Linked DNA regions of Homo sapiens: all the other regions are linked to region 6. The links are contacts of gene promoters, found by promoter capture Hi-C in blood cells and fetal thymus (Javierre and others, 2016). All regions are on one chromosome and are shown on one strand. Each heading gives the region's core, a stretch centred on a gene start or on the middle of the fragment in contact. The rest is flanking DNA. Distances are from core to core; before and after follow the strand shown. Region 1 holds the start of MIR130A (microRNA 130a). Region 2 overlaps CTNND1 (catenin delta 1). Region 3 overlaps CLP1 (cleavage factor polyribonucleotide kinase subunit 1). Region 4 holds the start of BTBD18 (BTB domain containing 18). Region 5 overlaps SLC43A1 (solute carrier family 43 member 1). Region 6 holds the start of FAM111A (FAM111 trypsin like peptidase A). Region 7 holds the start of MED19 (mediator complex subunit 19).

Evidence for each region. Contacts are between HindIII fragments. The CHiCAGO score rates a contact against its expected background, and 5 or more counts as called.
Region 1: a contact is called between a fragment that was not itself captured here and the fragment with the promoter of FAM111A in region 6, in 1 of 17 cell types (fetal thymus). The highest score is 5.6, in fetal thymus.
Region 2: a fragment that was not itself captured here is called in contact with the fragment with the promoter of FAM111A in region 6 in 1 of 17 cell types (non-activated CD4 T cells); the score reaches 5.5 in non-activated CD4 T cells.
Region 3: a fragment that was not itself captured here is called in contact with the fragment with the promoter of FAM111A in region 6 in 2 of 17 cell types (fetal thymus and activated CD4 T cells); the score reaches 5.6 in fetal thymus.
Region 4: the fragment with the promoter of BTBD18 here is called in contact with the fragment with the promoter of FAM111A in region 6 in 7 of 17 cell types (fetal thymus, non-activated CD4 T cells, total CD8 T cells and 4 more); the score reaches 17.5 in fetal thymus.
Region 5: a fragment that was not itself captured here is called in contact with the fragment with the promoter of FAM111A in region 6 in 1 of 17 cell types (non-activated CD4 T cells); the score reaches 5.3 in non-activated CD4 T cells.
Region 7: a contact is called between the fragment with the promoter of MED19 here and the fragment with the promoter of FAM111A in region 6, in 5 of 17 cell types (naive CD4 T cells, total CD8 T cells, fetal thymus and 2 more). The highest score is 8.7, in naive CD4 T cells.

What each region holds. Positions count from the first base shown.
Region 1 is chr11:57,638,801-57,641,561 of GRCh38, reverse strand. The region is part of intron 1 of MIR130AHG (MIR130A host gene); the gene reads right to left. MIR130A (microRNA 130a) reads right to left here and starts at 364; the gene lies at 276-364. RefSeq lists an enhancer at 1,567-2,146. The HindIII fragment of the contact is 807 bases long and covers 915-1,721 here.
Region 2 is chr11:57,801,783-57,804,482 of GRCh38, reverse strand. CTNND1 (catenin delta 1) reads right to left here. Exons shown (of 21, transcript NM_001085458.2): 7 at 2,287-2,700; 8 at 679-862. It overlaps TMX2-CTNND1 (TMX2-CTNND1 readthrough (NMD candidate)), which reads right to left. Exons shown (of 21, transcript NR_037646.1): 8 at 2,287-2,700; 9 at 679-862. Among named protein-coding and RNA genes, the nearest start is that of CTNND1, 41 kb to the right of the region's middle. The HindIII fragment of the contact is 801 bases long and covers 998-1,798 here.
Region 3 is chr11:57,659,808-57,662,589 of GRCh38, reverse strand. It overlaps CLP1 (cleavage factor polyribonucleotide kinase subunit 1), which reads right to left. Exons shown (of 3, transcript NM_006831.3): 2 at 2,508-2,782; 3 at 725-1,825. The coding sequence ends at 1,154. Among named protein-coding and RNA genes, the nearest start is that of CLP1, 3.4 kb to the right of the region's middle. The HindIII fragment of the contact is 2,449 bases long and covers 73-2,521 here.
Region 4 is chr11:57,750,453-57,753,152 of GRCh38, reverse strand. BTBD18 (BTB domain containing 18) reads left to right here and starts at 1,334. Exons shown (of 3, transcript NM_001145101.3): 1 at 1,334-1,612; 2 at 1,917-2,088. The coding sequence starts at 1,965. All of the region lies in intron 2 of TMX2-CTNND1 (TMX2-CTNND1 readthrough (NMD candidate)), which reads right to left. The HindIII fragment of the contact is 11,151 bases long and covers 552-2,700 here.
Region 5 is chr11:57,511,121-57,513,820 of GRCh38, reverse strand. The region is part of intron 2 of SLC43A1 (solute carrier family 43 member 1); the gene reads left to right. Among named protein-coding and RNA genes, the nearest start is that of SLC43A1, 3.2 kb to the left of the region's middle. The HindIII fragment of the contact is 1,619 bases long and covers 632-2,250 here.
Region 6 is chr11:59,141,553-59,144,252 of GRCh38, reverse strand. FAM111A (FAM111 trypsin like peptidase A) reads right to left here and starts at 1,397. Exons shown (of 6, transcript NM_001312909.2): 1 at 1,307-1,397; 2 at 949-1,170; 3 at 558-756. It overlaps FAM111A-DT (FAM111A divergent transcript), which reads left to right and starts at 1,445. Exons shown (of 4, transcript NR_110184.1): 1 at 1,445-1,638. It also overlaps the pseudogene LOC100422399. RefSeq lists an enhancer at 1,180-1,629. The HindIII fragment of the contact is 3,476 bases long and covers 1-2,700 here.
Region 7 is chr11:57,710,931-57,713,630 of GRCh38, reverse strand. It overlaps MED19 (mediator complex subunit 19), which reads left to right and starts at 1,416. Exons shown (of 5, transcript NM_001317078.4): 1 at 1,416-1,668. The coding sequence starts at 1,452. It overlaps TMX2 (thioredoxin related transmembrane protein 2), which reads right to left and starts at 1,038. Exons shown (of 8, transcript NM_015959.4): 1 at 824-1,038. The coding sequence starts at 1,012. TMX2-CTNND1 (TMX2-CTNND1 readthrough (NMD candidate)) reads right to left here and starts at 1,108. Exons shown (of 21, transcript NR_037646.1): 1 at 824-1,108. RefSeq lists a silencer at 1,446-1,785. The HindIII fragment of the contact is 3,048 bases long and covers 53-2,700 here.

The DNA of each region.
Region 1 (2,761 bases), core at 69-2,568, 1.5 Mb after region 6:
ACCTAAGAGCTACACAATCTTAGCCAAACTGTTTAAACCTTTCTGACCCTCAGTTTTTCATCCATAAAATGGGGCTGTTACCTCCCAGAAGTTATTAGGTTTCACAGTAACGGAGGCAGTGTCTATCACAAGCACTGCATACAGAAGTAGTTCCATAAATGAGAGCTATTAGTATAACTAACAAGTGAGGCTACCCAGATTCCCACCAGGGTAGCTGACTGGTGCCCAGATGGGAGAGGAATTGCAATGCTGAGGAGGCAGCCAGCGCTGGGTAGCACTACACGGCCAATGCCCTTTTAACATTGCACTGCTAGTGACAGGTGCAGACAGTAGCACAATGTGAAAAGAGCTCTGGCCAGCAGCAGAGGCATGCCGGCCCTGCCTCCTCACTCCTTCTCCCAGTCCCTGGCCCACTCAGCTCACGGGCTCCCTCTGCCCCTTCTTTGCTTCAATACAGCTTTTTTCCCTTTTATTCCATTCTTAGTGTTCATTCTATTTTTTCACCACTCTTCCTTTTGCCGCCTTCTTCACCAACCCCCTGACCCCCAGCACAGAGACCACCTTTTTCTTGGAGGTTTTGGCATGGGAGGACAGGACCCACTAAAGCAGCTGCAGGGATACTTCGGGCTTGATGCTCAGTCCTCAAAGAAAACGGCTATTAGCAATCCCCAAAGTCTGGAGGTCACTCGTATGAGGCTGTGTTCATCTGGATTTGCATTTCCGCTAGCTTACCTTCTAGAGAGGAGCTTGCTGCCCAAGACTACAGAACCCTCTACTCTTCTCTAAGTTTCCATCTCCTTTTAAATTTAGATAAAGCAGAGCTCTAGGCCTCAAGGCAACACTCTCAGATGACCTTCCAGGACCAGAGAGGTGGGAGCCTGTAGTCACAGCTCCCCACGCAGTAGAGAGAAGCTTCCAGGCGGGGAGGTGAAAGCTGCTGGTGAAGCCCCACCCCTGCATCTCCTTTTGGAGGTCCTGAAAGCACTTTGCAGATTCAGCATTAAAATGGTGAGGGTGATTCGCTCACAGTTACTGAGAGTTAGGGATAGGCTTTCACTGGCAGTGGGATTCACATCTGAGTTATTTCCTGTCTTATCCAGGGACCCTTGGTTGGGGAGTCTTCAAGCTCATCCTAGCACTTCCCCATCCTATCCAACCCTAAGGGGGCTTAAATACAGGACAAACAGTCCCCGGAAGATTAACACCCAAAGCCAGAAAGCTGCCCTGGAAGGACACCTGGATATCTGGAGGCTCAGACCCAGGCAGGCTCTATTGTGGCACATTCCAGCTAGGGCCACAGCCCCGGAGCCCAGCTCCAGTTCTGACCCAGTGAACTTTGGGCAGCCCAGAGAAACAGAGGCTGGAGGGTGATTCCTCCAGTGCCCCGATCAACGAAGGGGAGATGCCTTCTTCCCTAATCCACAGCCACCGTAAGGAATAGAGGACAGAATTCCAGTTGGGAGCTCTTCCTCTGGGCTTCCCTCTAGCCTCGTCCCACCCCCTCAGGAAGCAGGAGACGTTCCCTCCCGCTCTCCCCGGCAGAGTTTGTTCCCGTAATCTGCAAACATGGGGCCCTGCCCTACAGTTTTAATGGGCGGAAACCAAGACCCCTCGAGGGTCAGTGACCTCTCTGCTCTGGGGTTGGGCAAACCAGGCCCAGCTGGGAACTGGATCACACCAACAGGGGGCAGAGGGGCAAAGATAAGGCTGCACAGCAAGCTTCAGGGAGGCCAGGGGAAGATTCTTCCCCAAGAAGTTTCCAGGTCTCTCCTTAGGGAGTGCAGGGAGAAAGGGCCAAGAGCCCCTCAGCTCTCACACACCCAACTCATTCCTGAGGAGCAGGCCCAGCGACTCACCAGCCAGCAGGACCCCTCCCCCACCTTGGGCCCAGGAGCCAGCCCCCAGCTCCTTCCAGAAGCGAGTGTAGAGACCGAGGAGGAAATGGGGGAGGGGAGGCCCCGGCTCAAGTTCTCTCCTCTCCCCCTCCTCATTGGCCACCATCTTCCGGCCCCTGCCCCCAGAGCAGCAGGGGATGGGGCCCAGCCTGTGAAAGGGAGAGAAAGGGCAGGTGGGGGGTTAGCTGGAGCAGCAGGGGCAGGGGGCTGGCCCCAACTGTCTCCTCCCACCCCCTCCTCGCAGCCATGGCGACGGGAGGAGGAGACCAGGAGGGTCCTGAAAGCCATGTTCTGTGAATGGGATGAGAGAGGCAGCTGGGAAGTGGGGGGTGAGGGGCGCTCTCCTTCAACACCCAACTGTGCTCCCCCCGAACACACACACCTCGAGGCTGGACCACACAGGCGCACGTACACACCACACACACACACACACACACACACAAACTCTCAGCCATACTTGCTGCACAACTCAGCCCTCATTACACACCCAAACAACAAGAACTGGAGTGTGAGCGCACGCCCCCCACACACACACATCCCCGCACCCCTCAACACCCCACAACTATCAGCTCGAAAACCAGCCTCACACCCCCACACCGCCCCTGGCTCACCCTACAACTTCTGGAGGTGCAGAACTCCCTGCCCTGCTCCAGCCCTTCGGCCCCCGGTCCCCCTCGGAACACTCCACGCCCTCGCACACAACCCAGGTGGAGACAGATGGCCCAGCTCGGCCGTGCCCAGCGGAGCCCCCCATCCCTACCCCACCACGCCCCCCACTGGAAAATGACAGTGAGGCCACCTCAGAAAGACACGCCTGGTGCTTCCCAGTTACAGTGTTTCCAAAGGAAAAAATAGAAAAGATGCCC
Region 2 (2,700 bases), core at 149-2,648, 1.3 Mb after region 6:
TATATCACTGTGGGGTAGGGATTAATGATATGTACCAGATGCAGTAATTCAAGATGGAATATATACTTCTCGTATGGAAGTATATAATACATATGTAGAATGGAACACAGCACACAGAGGTGTATTCCAAAGAGAGAAAGATTATATAGCAGCATTTATAGGATATAAAAAGAATTCAGGAAAACTTTAATAAAATAAAGGCACTTGAGTTTAACCACAAAAAGATAAATAAGAAGAGAAAGGCATCACAGAAAGAACAGACCTTCCTCACCCATGCCCTAACCTCCTAGTACTCTGTACCCCTTTTGCTGAATTTATCACAGCCTGACTTGAAATACAAATAACTAGGGCAAGGACATAGACACACACAAGTCCAGGACTAGACCACCTTACATGTGGTAGATGCTGAACAAAAGCTTACCAAAGTAGATGAACAAAGTCAAAGAGGCATAAAAGTGAAGAGGATGTGTGGGGAACAGCAAGAAAACTGATATAGGTACATGTGGTATACATGAGAGAATAGCAACAAAGATAGAAAGGTTGGAGTTACAGTATGCAATACAGATAGGAATGGAGGCTAAAGAATAGGCTAAAGAATTTTAATTTTTTTTTTTTTTTAGGAAATTTAAGTCAGTCCTCAAAAATTCATCTTCATATTCTCAAAGTCCCTACTGTTACCTAAGGCAGCCAGCTGTGTTGGTGAGCACCGATTCCCACTCAATGTGGCGTGGCTTACAGTCTTCATTAGGTTCCCGCTCCCAACCAGAATGAGGAATGATCACTTCATCTGTCAAGGCATGCAGTGCATGGTCCACAATCTCCATTTTGATTGAGTCATGGGATGAAAGATTCCACAGGGTTCCTGGAAGAGACAATTCATCAGATGGCTCTTGAGCATTCAAGACAATATGTCTGAAGAACGTCAAAGAGAATCCCCCTATCGTATCACTTCTCAGTCTTCCCCAGTGACCAAATACCTTATAGTAATATTCAAGCTTTGTTTGCGACCCTCACCAAGAAACATATTCTACATTATAGCTCAAAATAAACATACAGATCATGAAACAAACAATGTTTAACTATAAGCAACGCTCAGGCTGGGTGTGGTGGCTCACGCCTGTAATCCCAGCAATTTGGGAGGCCAAGGCGGGCGGATCACAAGGTTGGGAGATCAAGACCATCCTGGCTAACACTAAAAATACAAAAAATTAGCCGGGCGTGGTGGCGGGCACCTGTAGTCCCAGCTACTTGGGAGGCTGAGGCAGGAGAATGGCGTGAACCCATGAGGCGGAGCTTGCGGTGAGCTGAGATTGTGCCACTGCACTCCAGCCTGGGTGACAGAGCGAGACTCCATCTCAAAAAAAACAAACAAAACTATAAGCAATGCTCAATGCTCTCCGATCTGTCTATACCAGAGTTTTTCAACCTCAGCACCACTGACATTTTCGGCCAGATGATTCTTTGTTATGAGGAGCTGTCTTGTCTATTGTTGGATGTTTACCAGTACCCCTGGCCTTTACTCACTAGATGCCAGTAGCACTCCCTCTCCCCTGTTCCAAGTTATAACAACCAAAAATATCTCCAACACTGCAAATGTCCAAATGTCCTCAGGGCAGGGCAGGCAAAATGGCCCACAACTGAGAAACAATGGTCTATACTACTTTTTCTTTATTCCTTTCCCTTGGAATGCTGATTATGCTCCACAAAATTTTGTTTTATTCACTAACGGATCACACAAATAGATCACAACCCACAATCTGAAAAACTACTGCTCTAAATAAAGCAAGAACCACAAGCTTAAATGTCTATATGGGTCAAGCCGGTGAGTCAAGAGAGGAAGATAATTAAAAGAAATTACAAGCATGTGAAAAAATAGCAGTTGACAGCTCCATGTTTGGGAAACAACTTCCTAAACAGCTGTAGTTGGTCAGATAATAGAATGTGTTGGAGATTAGTGTAAATTAGAGAGCACATGCTCCAATCAGTTCAGACCAAATACTGCTAAGGAAGAAAAGAGATCCATTGTTAACAACTCTTCCACGTTTTTAATAGAAGCCAAGAATCTGGAATTTTAAGTGAAATCTTCTGAATTTTAAACATCAGCAACCAGTTCTTTAAAATTTCAATAATGCTGTGTGATCCAAACAAATCTGTGAGATGGATTTGACCCACAGCCACCAGTTCACAACCTTTCATCAAAAGTAAAAGGTCTGGAAATCCCTCTAGTTCTCAACATCACTAGAGAGTAACACTGACTTAGCAATTTTCCTTAGGCCTAGAACTCACCGGTAATAACTTCAGTAAGGTCCATATCACGAGCCTTTCGAAGCAATCGCACAAGGGCAGGCACACCATCACAGTTTTTTATGGCAATCTTGTTATCCTGGTCACGTCCAAAAGAGATATTCTTGAGAGCTCCACAGGCTCCAAGGTGCACTTCCTTTTTGGGATGGTCTAACAATCCCACCAGTACTGGGATGCCCTTGAGCTTCCGCACGTCAGTCTTCACCTTGTCATTGCGGTAGCATAAGTGTTGCAGGTATGCAGCTGCATTGGACTTGACAGCATCCAAGCGGAATCCAAGCATGGCGATCACCTCTGGCAGCTCTGGCTGTCTCCAATTAGGAGGTGGAGGCCCTCCTTTGCGCAGGCTATCCAAGCTTGCTAAACTTCCTCGCTCATGCTGGGCCAAAGGAGCCC
Region 3 (2,782 bases), core at 48-2,547, 1.5 Mb after region 6:
AGGGACACCAAACAGTCATTTGCAAGAGATCAAAAAGAATGGGCTTTCCCAGTTTCTTACCACCTGAAAGCTTAAGTTACACTTTGACTTAGGGCCTAGTTCCAATCAAATAGACAAGGATAGCTGTACTGGAAGGAAAATGAGCTATCTCTGGAAAATGATTAGATATGAAATCTCATTCCAAGATTATCACCAGCCTCTAACTCCCCACAGTAAATCCAGCACTGACAGCAGATTTACCATCTACTTACCTAAGCGCAGAGGAAAGGTGAACTATCATAAGAACTCACAGCCGGGCACAGTGTCTCACACCTGTAATCCCAGCATTTTGGGAGGCCGAGGCAGGCAGATCATGAGGTCAGGAGTTTGAGACCAGCCTGGCCAACATAGTGAAACCCTGTCCCTACTAAAAGAAATACAAAAAATTAGCTGGGCGTGGTGGCGGGCACCTGTAACCCCAGCTATTTGGGAGGCTGAGGCAGGAGAATCACTTGAACCTGGGAGGCAGAGGTTGCAGTGAGCCAAGATCACGCCACTGCACTCCAGCCCAGGTGACAGTGTGAGACTCTTACAAAAACAACCACCACCACCACCAAAAAAAAAAACCTGACGTGGCTCACAGGTAGGTTTCTTGGTTTTCCCCTCCTCCAAGCATTTTAGCAATAAATCATTCCAATTATGTTTCTATAACGCTTAGGGGAAAAAAATAAATTATACCAACTTCTATGATATGGCAAAAATATTTATTAAAATGATTTTTTTTAAGTTTGAACTTTATTGGAAGGAGTCCCTCTAATTCACACTTTCATCCTAGATAAATGGGTAAGAACCACATATGGAATATAAAGCATTGATTTTTTAAAAACCACATAGTAGCACAGTGAAAGAAATGCAATTCTCCAGGGTCTTAGAGAATTCAAAGTGGCATCTTAGGTGGTCTAAGAAACCAATTACAGTCTCATGGTTTTCCTTTTGGTTCAAGATTAGAAGAGTCAGGTTACCACTACCTGTTTTTAGAGGTAGAATATGAACTTTCTACTAGTCCACAGTTTACTGGTCAGGTGGCCCCAACAGTCTTTTATCTCAGCCCATCTGCCTCTAGGGGTGGCCAGATGATCTCTATGTCCCAGGCAGCAAGGCTTCCTGCTGATCTCTACTTCAGATCCATGAACCGGATATCCATGATGAGAAGGAAGTTCTTAGGCAGTGGGCGAGGGGCTGGAGACAGAACAGTAAACACCTGATGCTCCAGGTCCACACTGGTCACCACAATGAAGCCAGCTACACTTGTCTCGGACAGGTTCTCCTCTGTACCCTCGGCAGTGCTAACACTCAGTAGGTGGTGCACCATATCTCGCCCAGGAGTGACAGGTACTAGCTTGAGCTGATTATCCTCTTGAGACATGCCCAAAGGTAAACAGGAGTCTGGGATGGTGGGTGCCCCAACTTTGTAGATTTTCACATCTGAAAATTTGACATTGAAGGCATGGGGATAGAAACAGCCTCGGAATCCATAAAAATACTCACGGATACGCTCATCCCTACATTCCCGCCGGAAGTCCTTGGAGCGCTCCACCACACCCCCAGATTTAGGGAGCAGCACAGTGCGTACAAAGTGGGGGAGGTCCCGTTTCAGTTCATTGTACAGTCGTTCTTGATCCAGAACAACAACGACATCCACCTCAAAAGCTGAGGCTGCATGCACCAGAGCCTGGTAACCAGAGCCCTTGACCCAGCCACAGGTGTTAATGACACAGCCACTCACAGATGCCCTTCGGTTCACCTCACACCTTTGGTTGAACACATCTGCTAAACGAGATGTAATCTGCAAAAGAGAGGATCAAGGTAAGAACAAAAACACCCAGACAAACCCATGGCTACTTTGTTCCTCTTTAGAATAAGTGCTATTAGATATAAGAAAAATGATTTTTTTTTTGAAATGGAGTCTCACTCTGTTGCCCAGGATGGAGTGCAGTGGCACGATCTCAGCTCACTGCAACCTCCACCTCCCGCGTTCAAGTGATTCTCCTGCCTCAGTCTCTGAACAGCTGGGATTACAGGCACCAGCCACCACGCCCAGCTACTTTTTGTATTTTTAGTAGAGACAAGGTTTCACCATGTTGGCCAGGCTGCTCTCCAACTCCTGACCTCAGGTGATCCACCCGTCTCAGCCTCCCAAGTTGTGGGATTACAGGCATGAGCCACTGTACCCAGCCTGAAAAAATGACATTTTTAATGGCTGTAGTTTTGATACCATAACATGGATTTAATTTTTATGTTGCTGCTTCTGCCTCCTGTTTTATGCCCTAAGTGAAAATCTAACAAATTACTAAGAATAGATCCACAGAAATGTTTAACAATCTGAGACTGACATATTTGGAATTGCCTTTCTAAAGTAATGCAGCAGAAATACCAGCTGAGAAAATGCAGTGTTAACTAGTAAACTTCTCCAGTTTCCTACCCTGATAGCAGCCCTTCCCTCCACCCCACCTTTCTCTGGCTCTGACCTTATTATAAAGCTTGATGTTAGTGCCAGGAGTGGTGGAACCAAAATGATACACCAGAGGGGCCTGGATAGAGAAACCCTCTTCGACATCTGCAGGCCGCTCGATGTAGAGGGCCCCCATGGTACCAGGGATGGACACAGAACCCTGGCCCACATCCAGCTCCACATAAGTGGGACGGCGGCCCAAACGCACTGCGTAGTTGAGCAGAAGGCGACACACTGTAGACTTGCCCACATCAGTGGGGCCCACTACCATCACTCGGGGACCTCGCTCTT
Region 4 (2,700 bases), core at 85-2,584, 1.4 Mb after region 6:
CTCTGCGACGCGCAGCGCGCTAGGACGGTGGCACGAGGTGTGTGGCGCTGGCCGCGTGGCCTTACAACCCTCGCTATCACTACCACCCAGTGCATGTGGGTGCTGAAGCCCGCAGGGATACAAGGGCGCCAGGGGCTGCCTGCAAAGTCTATGCTGGCGGAGGTGGCCGTGACGGGAAGTCCTGACTTTGGGCCTCCCGGATCCCCACGGTCCATTCCCAGAAACCCTCGCGCCTAGGAGTCTTTCTTCAAAGGAGTTGGGCCAGGGCGCCCAAGCGTGCGGGCCACCCCGCTTTGCAGGGCTCTCCCTGAAGCCCTGCTTTCTCCGCCAACACCGATTCCCTTGCTTCTGGATGGGGAGGTGAAGCACTCAGCCGTTGGCCCACCTGCGCATCTTTGCTCAGCCTCCTGACTCAACGCTGAACATTGAGAGGAAGCAAGGCAGGCTGGACAGAGGACAAGCACAGAGAAGGCAACAGGAGCAAAGTCTACCGAAAAGCTATTTCAAGTTGGGTCTGGAGGCAAGGCCAGGCGATCGTGGATTGAGAAGCTTCCCCAGGGCCCTTGCAACAGCTGCCATCCTCCATCCACATCTCTCTCACTGGGATGGGAATTTTTTTTTTTTTTTTGAGACGGAGTCTCGCTCTGTCGCCCAGGCTGGAGTGCAGTGGCTCTATCTACAACCTCTGCCTCCCAGGTTCAAGCGATTCTCCCACCTCAGCCTCCTGAGTAGCTGAGATTACAGGCGCCTGCCACCATGCCCGGCTAATTTTCGTATTTTTGTAGAGACGGGGAGTCACCATGTTGGCCAGGCTGGTCTCAAACTCCTAACCTCAGGTGATCCACCCGCCTCGGCCTCCCAAAGTGCTGGGATTACAGGCGTGAGCCACCCCGCCCAGCCAAGCCCGCCTTCTCTTAATTTACCTTTTCATTCTTCTTTCCTGATAGTTTTGACGTGAACTGTTCGGACCCTCAGTGCTACCTGATAGAAAACTGCATTCCAGGAAAGGAACACAGCTGTGCAGTGAGTGGGGGGGTTTCGGAGCTAAAAAGCTGGACATAAGCCTGAAGTCAGAATACTCAGTTTGTTTTGGGAGGGGTAAAATGCTTTACTATCCTTGCTGCATTGTTAGCCTGGTAATTAACTATACAAACGTAAAGGCCAAATTCTTTGCCTACTACCAGGGTCAGTCAGGCTCGCTTTGGTCAAGTACACCCAGCCAAGGGTGGCAACGTCCTTGGTTCTGTGAGAGACCTTCCCGCAGAGTCAGAGGCTTCTCTTCTTTATTGTGCACCCTCTGCTGGTTAGTGTGATACAGTGAGCTCAGAGAAAAGGCGCATACGACTTACTAGAGATAATTTTATACCCAGTAATGTTTCCTTAAAAGTGTTAACTTGAAGATTATACCTGTGGAGCTGGGATGTGGTGCTCAGGAAGAATATAAGTAGTCAGCATTGTAGCAGTTGAGTCTCAGTGGTAATGGAAATGAGGAAGGTTGAAGGATAATAATAGTTACCATTTGGGGCTTGGTAGTTATTTTGTGCCAGGCACTCACTGTGCTAAGCAACTTTACCTTCACTGACTCATTTAATCTTTAAAACAACCCTACAAGGTAAGTACTATTATTCTATTTCATGGATAGGAAAGTGAGACTCAGAGAAGTTAGGTCACCTGTGTGAGATTATACAGCCAGGCTAATAAATAGAGCCAAGACCCAAACCTAGGCTTATCTCTGAGCTCCCACATGTAACCACTATGATAATTTTCTTTCTTGAGATATCCTTGGCACAATTTCTGGGCTGATGTTTCCTCAACTCATACTATTATCTCTCACTTTCAAAATTCCCCTGCCATTTCAAAGACAAAAAACAAATTAGATGTAACCATGCCTCTGAAATGTATTATCTCACCTACAGGAGTCTGATCTGTGAAAACCTAGAAGGTTTGTTAAGACTCTTGCCAACATGTGCTCTCCTGCCAGTCCCAAAATCCTATACAGGAACCCCCGGTTCCTCAGGTTAGCTTTTCTGCAGCTTCATCACCAGCAGCAGAGTGATGTGTTCTGTGATGTCCTTCTGCAGGCAGAAGGTAAGAGAGTGGTCGGAATTCAACTGAAAACTCACCATAGAATAAGATAAAATGAGTTCAGAGCCAGAGGGTAAAGGACAAAATCAGCAAAATATTACTGCCTATGACCACTGTAAACTATTTGGTAAAGGGCTGTTTGTTTCTAGGACAATTACTACTGTTTTCAAGAGTGAAATTGTGACTTTGCTTCTTTCTCTTAAATAATGAATCTAATTGTAAAGTTTTATAAGCAGATACATTCTATATAACATGGATAATATTCCAATGGGATGGTTGTGAAGATTAAGAGTTAATGTGGGTAAGCACTTAGAATAGTGCTTTTAATATACTAACCACAATATGTGTTAGATGATACTATTATGTTTTCTTTTTGAGAGTCTCACTCTCTTGCCCAGGCAGGAGTGTGGTGGCACAATCACAGCTACCTGCAACCTCCACCTCCTGGGTTCAAGTGATTCTCATGCCTTAGCTTTCTCAAGTAGCTGAGATTACAGGCATGCGCCACTACGCCCAGCTAACTTTTGTATTTTTAGTAGAGATGAGGTTTTGCCATGATGGCCAGGCTGGTCTCAAACTCCTGGCCTCAAGTGATCCACCCGCCTGGGCTTGCCA
Region 5 (2,700 bases), core at 192-2,691, 1.6 Mb after region 6:
CTTCAGGGGGAGATTGGGTGGCACTCTGCCCACTGTTTCATTTATCTAATCCAGTGGTCACTGAATGCCAGGTGTCCTGCTGGTCATCCAGACCCTGGGACTAATAGGCAGAGTCCTAAGCCTCTGACAGCCTCAGGTCTAGAGCTCTTTGAAGGAGACGTGCTGGGAGAGGAATTTCTTAATAGGGCTATCATAAGACAAGGGAGAGCTGCACAAAGTGGAGTATGAATATAAAGGGCCCCACATCCTTCCCTTTTCAGGAGCTGGGAGCCCCCAGGTTTTCAAATTACTCATTTGGACAAAGTTACATAGCCTCATTTACTCTAGGAGGGCATTGTGGAGAGTCTCTGGTTTCCACTTCAATCACCTTGTGTGAGTGGCCCCGAAGCTGGGAGTGGGAATTCTAACACTCTTTGGGAGCAGTAACTACAGCCATAGGCTGTCTGCAGCTGCCTTGGGGCAGGGAGTTACCACTGCTGGTGTCTAGGACTTGCCTCTGATGGGTATCTTCCTATTCTGGGAAGGAGAGAGCTGTGCTGACAAGCTCCGCCTCAGGAGCTGGGTGGAAATGGAATTGGGCTCCCCTCTCTTTTTATCCCCTTTCCCCAACCTCTGTGTTGTGGAGTAAGCTTGGAAGGAAGTTTAGCTTGGATTTGAATCCCAGCTTCCATCACTTTTATCAGTTGGTGACTTCGGTGAGTTCCTTAAACATTGAGCTTCAGTTGCCTGGTCTTCAGAATGGGGATAATAATATCGATTCCGTGGGAGTGCTGTGAGAGTCTGCAGTGCTTAATAAATGTTAGTGTCCTTCTCGTTGCTCCTGGCTTCTCGTTTCAACTCCTTCCTGCACAGCACCTGATGTGGCTATGGAAGAAAACCGATTCCTTGAGGGGTGGAGATGGGGAGGTCTTGATCACTGCTCTGAACAGCGGCTGCTCCACCCCAGGATCTGCCGCATCCAGCCATGGTTATCTGTAAAGATGCAACAGATGGCACCGAGAGATGGCGACTCTCCCATGCCTCCTGGCCCCAATTATGGGGTGACAGGGGCTGGAGGAGGTGGGGTTGGCAGCCAGGCTGGGATGGCTGGGTGGGTTGGGAAGAAGAGGCCTGACATGAAATGATACACATAAGAGTGGCTGCAAGAACCAAGTGGAGGGCTATTAGGGACCCACATGGCATCTAAGTCCCCTATGAGTTTATCCTGGAGATAGGAGAGACCCTGCCTGCCCTTGACACCTGCCACTGTCCCCTATGTAACTTTTTTTTTTTTTTTTGAGACAGAGTCTCACTCTGTCACCCAGGCTGGAGTGCATTGGCATGATCTTCGCTCACTGCAACCTTCTCCCCCTGGGTTCACGCGAGCACGTCTGGCTAATTTTTGTATTTTTAGTAGAGACGGGCTTTCACCATGTTGGCCAGGCTGGTCTCGAACACCTGACCTCAAGTCACCCACCCGGCTCGGCCTCCCGCAGTGCTGGGATTATAGACATGAGCCACCACTCTTGGCCTACCCCTTGTGTAACTTCTTCCTGCCTTCTCCACCTGGTGCTGGTGGTGTTTCTTTAAAATCAACTTTCTTGAAGATTACATCATACATTTTGATGAGGTCTGACAAATTTATATGCCTCAGTACCCACCACACAATATTTAGAACCTCCTCAAACTCCTGCTTCTCTTTAGAGGGCTCATCCCTCCACCTGCATTTTTAAATATGTAAAATATGTAAAACAGCTTTATTAAGATATAATTTCCATGCCTCACAAGTCACCCATTTCAAGTATATAATTTAACAGTTTTAGTATGTTCAGAGTAGTGCAACCATCACCAGAGTCCATTTCAGAACAGTTTCTTTATCCCCAAAAGTAACTCTGTACCATTAGCAGTACTCACTCGCCTCACCCCCACCTCTGCCCCCAAGCACTAGGCAACCACTCATCTATTTCCTGTCATAGCTTTGCCTGTGATAAAAGTTAGATTTACCTATTCTGAACATTTCATTTAAATGGAATCTTGTAATATGTAGCCTTTTGTGATTGGCTGCTTTCACTTAGCATAATGTTTTTGAGGTTCATCCTTGTAGCATGTATCAGGACTTCTTTTTATTGCTGAGTAAATACTCCATTGTATGGATCAACCACCATTCTATTTATCCATTTGTCAGTTGATGGAGATTTGGGTTGTTTTCACATTTTGGCTATTATGAATAATGGTCTGGCTGGGTGTGGTGGCTCATCTGTAATCCAAGCTTATTTCAAGGCTAAGGCAGGAGGATCACTTGAGGCCAGGAGTTTGAATGTGCAGTGAGCTATGATTGTGCCACTATACTCCAGCCTGGGCCACAGAGTGAGACCCAAATGTTCTTCTGGACTTTTTTTTTTTAATTTTTTTGAGACAGGGTCTCTCACTCAGTGACCCAGGCTGGAGTGCAGAGGCACAATCACAGTTCACTGCAGCTTCAACCTCCTGGGCTCAAATGATCCTCCCACCTCAGCCTCCAGAATAGTTGGGACTACAGGCCCGCATCAACACATCCAGCTAATTAAAAAAAAATTTTTTTATAGAGACTGGGTCATGCTATGTTGCTGAGACTGGTCTCGAACTCCTGGGCTCAAGTGATCCTCCCTCCTGGGCCTCCCAAAGTGTTGGGATTATAGGTGTGAGCCACCCCGCCTAGCCCTTGTAAAGTTTTTAATGTCG
Region 6 (2,700 bases), core at 148-2,647:
CTGAGTTGAGGGTTGGGAGGTTGATTAGGTCTTGCTGGAGCCTCCAAGAATGTCAAATGTTGGCTCCCAGTAATATCAAAGCAACCTGTTGATAAGACAAAGCTAAGTTTCTTGCTCACTTAGGTAATGGAGAACAATAACTTGACAGAATTTAAGTGGTGTCTCAGAGAGGGAAGAGCAAGTTTGGGCTATATGTATTGAGATTTTGAAGTCCCATTGTAAGTCTAATATTTAATGAGGGGAATTGGTTAGAATTGAGTCAGCTACGGGTAAAAGTTTAGGATTGGTAGATAAAACAAGGCTAGGATTTTGAGGTAAAGGTTCAAAGTCTTAGAATGTAAACTGTTCTTTGATGTTTTCCATTGAAGAGTGGTTGGATCTTTGAAGAAGATACTGGATTAAGCAATAAAGATATTTGCAACTTTCCGGTCCCTGGCAAAAGTTTCTTGAAATAGTAAATGTATGTTGATGAAAATAATGGAATAAGAAGTCAGGTTAATGTAGTTGGCAAGCTATGTGAGTGTAGATGGCTTCAGTTCTCACAATAGTGAACATACCTGATAATGTACTCAACATTTGTCACTTAGAGTATTTTATCCTGGAAAGAAGCGTAGTTGGGAAAACGCACTTGAGATGATGTTTGCTGCACACAGAATTCGGACACAGAGATGTGAATCTCCTTAGGAACCATTTTCATAAAGTTAACATTGGGTCTTAATAGACATCAGTTTTTAAAAATTAGAACAGGCTTGGGCACTGCAAAAGAAAGACACATCCGTTCACTTGGCTGTTCTTTTTAAGTTTCCAGGGAGAGCGTCAGTGCCCCTTTCAACAATAAAAGCCCGCAGGAGTGCAGATTTTATTTACCCTGTCCCCACCAGCATCCTGCTGCGGCCAATGAATCCTGGCAAAACTCCAGGTCAGCCCCAGAACCAAAGAGTAACTCACCTAAGAGGAAGGTCCGTTCCCACCAAGTCTCAGACGCCTGAACTCGTGATTTTTAGGGACTTTCCCTTCCAGTCCCTTGGAATCCAGCACTTTGGTTGGAGAACAGAACTCACTTGGGGAATGGCGCGTCTGGCCAATGGAATGAAAGATACTGGAGTTTGTCTTTTCTCTTCAGGCAGCAACTCACCTACTTCGGAAGCCGATTGGCTGCGCTGGGGACACCTGTTGGCGTGCAAAAAAGAGTGGTTGGAAAGGCAAGGCCGAGGGGGCGCGCCTACCCTACCCACCCACAGCGCTCCTCCTTGACGCCGCGAGCAGGACCCTGTCTCACTGACCCCGTGCCCACGGCGGTCCTTGCCTGCTTCTATTCTCCCGGTTTCCCCAGTCCCGAGTATTGGAAAGCGAGAGCGAAAGCGAAAGCATCCTAGTCGCCGGTAGGCTGGCCTGGGCCGGGCTGGAGAGGGAGCAGGAAATAAAAACTCGGGTGTGGGAGGAGCTGGGACGCTGGCGGCAGAGCCACTGTGGCAGCTTGAGTCTCGCGCGCGCAGGAAGCGGAGGTGGAAGTTGGGGCGCAGGAATGTGGCTGTCCCCGCCTGTAAATCATGGTTGGGGAGGAGTCGCGGAGGCACCAGGCTGGGGTCTGCAGCGCGCCATCTGCTGCAGCACACAGGAGGCGCTGAGGCTAGTTGGGTAAGTGGGGAGATTTCAGGCACTTCCGAGGGGGCGGCATCCCCAGCAGGTGGGATAGGCCCGGTGACTAGGACAAAATCACGAAGAAGCCGCGGATGCAGGAAGAGTAAACTCCCTTGTCATAAATCGATTCTCCAAACGTTCATCAATATGTGGAGACGTTTATGATAGTGATGAAGAAGATGATATGGGCTCTAGGAATATGCATCTCAAAGCTGATGATCGAAGAAGATTGGAGAGGGTTTTCAAGGCAGCCTGCTGTTTAAGGACCTGCATTCTGAGTAGATGTGTATTGGAAAAGGCGATTACAGTCACAAAGGGGACAACTTTTATGCAATTGACAGAGGACTATATGATGTATATAAACAGATAGGGTTGAAAGGTGTGTTGGTAACTACAAAACACATGGGAATTTGAAGGAAGGAACTGGCCTTAAATGCATGTACAATACACCAAGAGAAGCTAAAATTACTGCTTCATCTTCTGTGGGTTCTTTGGGGTTTGGATAGAGTAACCTTAAAACATATTTGAATGCTGACTTTTTCTATGAGACTCACTTTTGGAATCTGTGCATTCCTACATTCACAAAGGGTAATCACAGCTAGTACCCAGCATCCAAACAATAGCAGCCAATAATTCTAATCTGGAGAAAATTTTCTTTTCTCTCTCTTTCTCTCTCTCTCTCTCTTTCTTTCTTTCTCTTTCTTTCTTTCTTTCTCTTTCTTTTTTTCTTTTTCTTTCCTTCTTTCTTTCTCTTTTTTCTTTTCTTCTTCATTCCTTCCTTCCTTTCTTCCTTTCTTTTTTCTCTTTATTTCTTCTCTTTCTTTCTTTCTTCTTTCTTTTTTCTTTTATCTTTCTTTCTTTCTCACTTTTCTCCTTCCCTCCCTCCCTCCTTTCTTCCTTCTTTCTCTTTTGCCTGTTTTACATTTTAATGTGTAAGCAAATAGTGATTAAAGGACAATAGGCTTAACATTTTCTAAAACATGGGTGTTCAGAATTGAATATACTGATAAAATTTGTTTCCAAAAGGAAGGATTATATACTAGGTGGGAGTGTAAATTA
Region 7 (2,700 bases), core at 167-2,666, 1.4 Mb after region 6:
GCCCTTTGTCGGTTGATTTTTCAACAAACCCTCAGAGAGCAAAGGGGAAGCTTTTCCTTGGCCCCTACATGCTATATGGCAGAAGGGAAAGTGCTTTAAGTTTATGTTCCGAGCAGTCCCTCCACCCATACCAAGGAAGCACAGCAAGGAGCTTGGGACACTTCCCAAAGAAATCCCAAAGATTTCTTTACAACGTATTTTTTACAATTCCTTTACAGTAGCCCCCAAATTTTATCCACTTTCGCATCTTCAGGATCAAGCAGAGTGCCTAGAGTGTACACTCTAGAAATGTTTATTGAATTAAGAAGCGGCTGACAGTGTTGTGCAGGTAGTGTGGCCAGAAGAGTAGTTTCAAGTCCCAGGCACTCATTAGTTGTATGACCTGGGGCAAGTCACCTAAATATACCGAGATCCATTTCTTCACCAATGAAACAGGAATATTACTACTTGCCTTGTCTACCTTACTGGCTCCTCAGGAGGCTTTACATAATGAGCGGCACTGTAAAACGTTATACACGTGTATGTACAGTTTTGATAGGGCTGTTAATTAGTCTCAATGGTGAAACAGAAAGAAACCTGGACTCAACAGTCAAAAGCTGTTGGGCCGTTGTGCATGGGCTACGACTAACATGTTCCGTTTTCCCATCTTAAACACAAAGTTTAGACTCGATGATGGTTCGGACCCTGCACTTAATAGTCTCTAAGTCCGCTACAGGCTCGGAACCTCAGGTGTCCTCAGAGAGGTAAACCCCAGGGTTCCCAGATACACCTGCAAGGGCAGGGACAGTCAAGGTCGCGGGGTACTAACACGCGGGAGGCTCACCCAGTCAAAGTCACACGGGTTACCGTCTTCGCGTTGGGTGGGCAGACCGTGGCAGAGCGGCGGCAGTTTCCTCACGAGTAGGAAGGCAGCAGAGAGCAGGGCCGACAGAAGGTAGTAAGGTTGGGCGAGCCATCGTGAAAGTCGCGGCACCGAATACACGAGAGCAATTAGAGGTGCCAAGACCGCCATCTTTTCGGCCGTAACGGCCACTGCTCGCCGGCGTCGTAGGTCTCGCCCCGCCTCCCCCACCATAACGACTGCTATTGGGCTATATCGCAAACGTACGGCCTCTAAACCCGGATGTAGTTCTCTGAACGCTGTGGTAGGTCAGAACCCAAAAAAGAACTTAATATTTTATTGGTTAGTCTAGTTGTCGCTTTATCCGCCTAAGTCATTTTATTGGACTGTAGCAAGCAGAGCTAGCAGAAGACTCTAATAAGGTTAAATAGCACTTCCTGAACGTTCTCATAAGGCGACGGAAGTAGTTGTTGAAAAAAGGTAGGCGGTGCCTGAGGCATCCAATGACAAGCGGCTCCTTGAGAAAGGGCGGGGGGGTACTCCTTGAAAGCATTGTCCAATGAAAATTACCAACGGCAGACACGGAGACAGCGCCGGGGCGGAGGGTACGATGGAGAATTTCACGGCACTGTTTGGGGCTCAGGCTGACCCACCACCGCCCCCAACCGCACTCGGCTTCGGACCAGGAAAGCCTCCACCCCCGCCACCGCCTCCTGCGGGCGGGGGACCCGGCACGGCCCCGCCTCCCACCGCGGCCACGGCTCCTCCTGGCGCGGACAAGTCAGGAGCTGGCTGTGGCCCTTTTTACCTCATGAGGGAACTGCCAGGTGAGTACTCGGCCTTGCCAAAGCCAGCCAATCAAATCTTAGAGAGGAGGTGATGGGCGTGGCTCTCAGCCGGCTAGCGGAGGTGCGAGGTAACCTAGGCAACGCATACCCGGACTGTGGAGCCCTAAGTCGGAAGCGCTGTTAGGATTCACAAGCAGAGGGATGACTTGAATTCAACCAGGATGAGTTGAATTCAACCAAAGGGATGAATGGCGGGCAGGGGCGTAGTGCATCTCCGTTACTGTCTTTTGCACCATGTCCAGGCTGTGTCCCTGACACTGGTTTATGTCTCTCTAAAAAATGACCTAGGGCTGGGCGCGGTGGCTCACGCCTGTAATCCCAACACTCTGGGAGGCGGAGGCGGGCGAATCACCTAAGGTCAGGAGTTCGAGACCGGCCTGGCCAACATGATGAAACCCTGTCTCCACAAAAAACACAAAAATTACCTGGGCGTGGTGGCGTATACCTTTAATTCCAGCTACTCGGGAGGCTGAGGCGGGAGAATCGTTTGAACCCCGGGAGGCGGAGGTTGCAGAGAGCCGACATTGCTCCACTGCACTCCAGCCTGGGCGAACGAGACTCCGTCTCAAAACAAACAAAATCCAGGGTTTGAGTTTGGAACTCGAGAGGCCTGATTTAATATCTTTGGGGACCCAAAGTTTTAGTTACAGGTCTCCCACAGACTTGCTATTGGTTTGGGGCAAGTTGCCATTCTTCCTTCTAAGGTTCCGGCATTTCCTGGTCTGATCAAAAAAGGGATAAGAATCGAACCAAACTCTTCATTCAAAAAATTATTTTGTTGAGTACCTATGTACCAAGCACTTTTCTAAATGCTGGAGACAGTTGTGAACAAGACTGACAAGATGCTTGCCTTTTTTGGGATGTACATTTCAGTGGAGGAGGCATTGTAAACAAGATAATGTCAGAAAGTGGTTAATGCTAGGAAAAGAAAACATGATAAAAATTGAAGGTGGCCAGGCGCGTTGCTCACGCCTGTAATCCCAGCGCTTTGGGAGGCCGAGGCAGAATCCC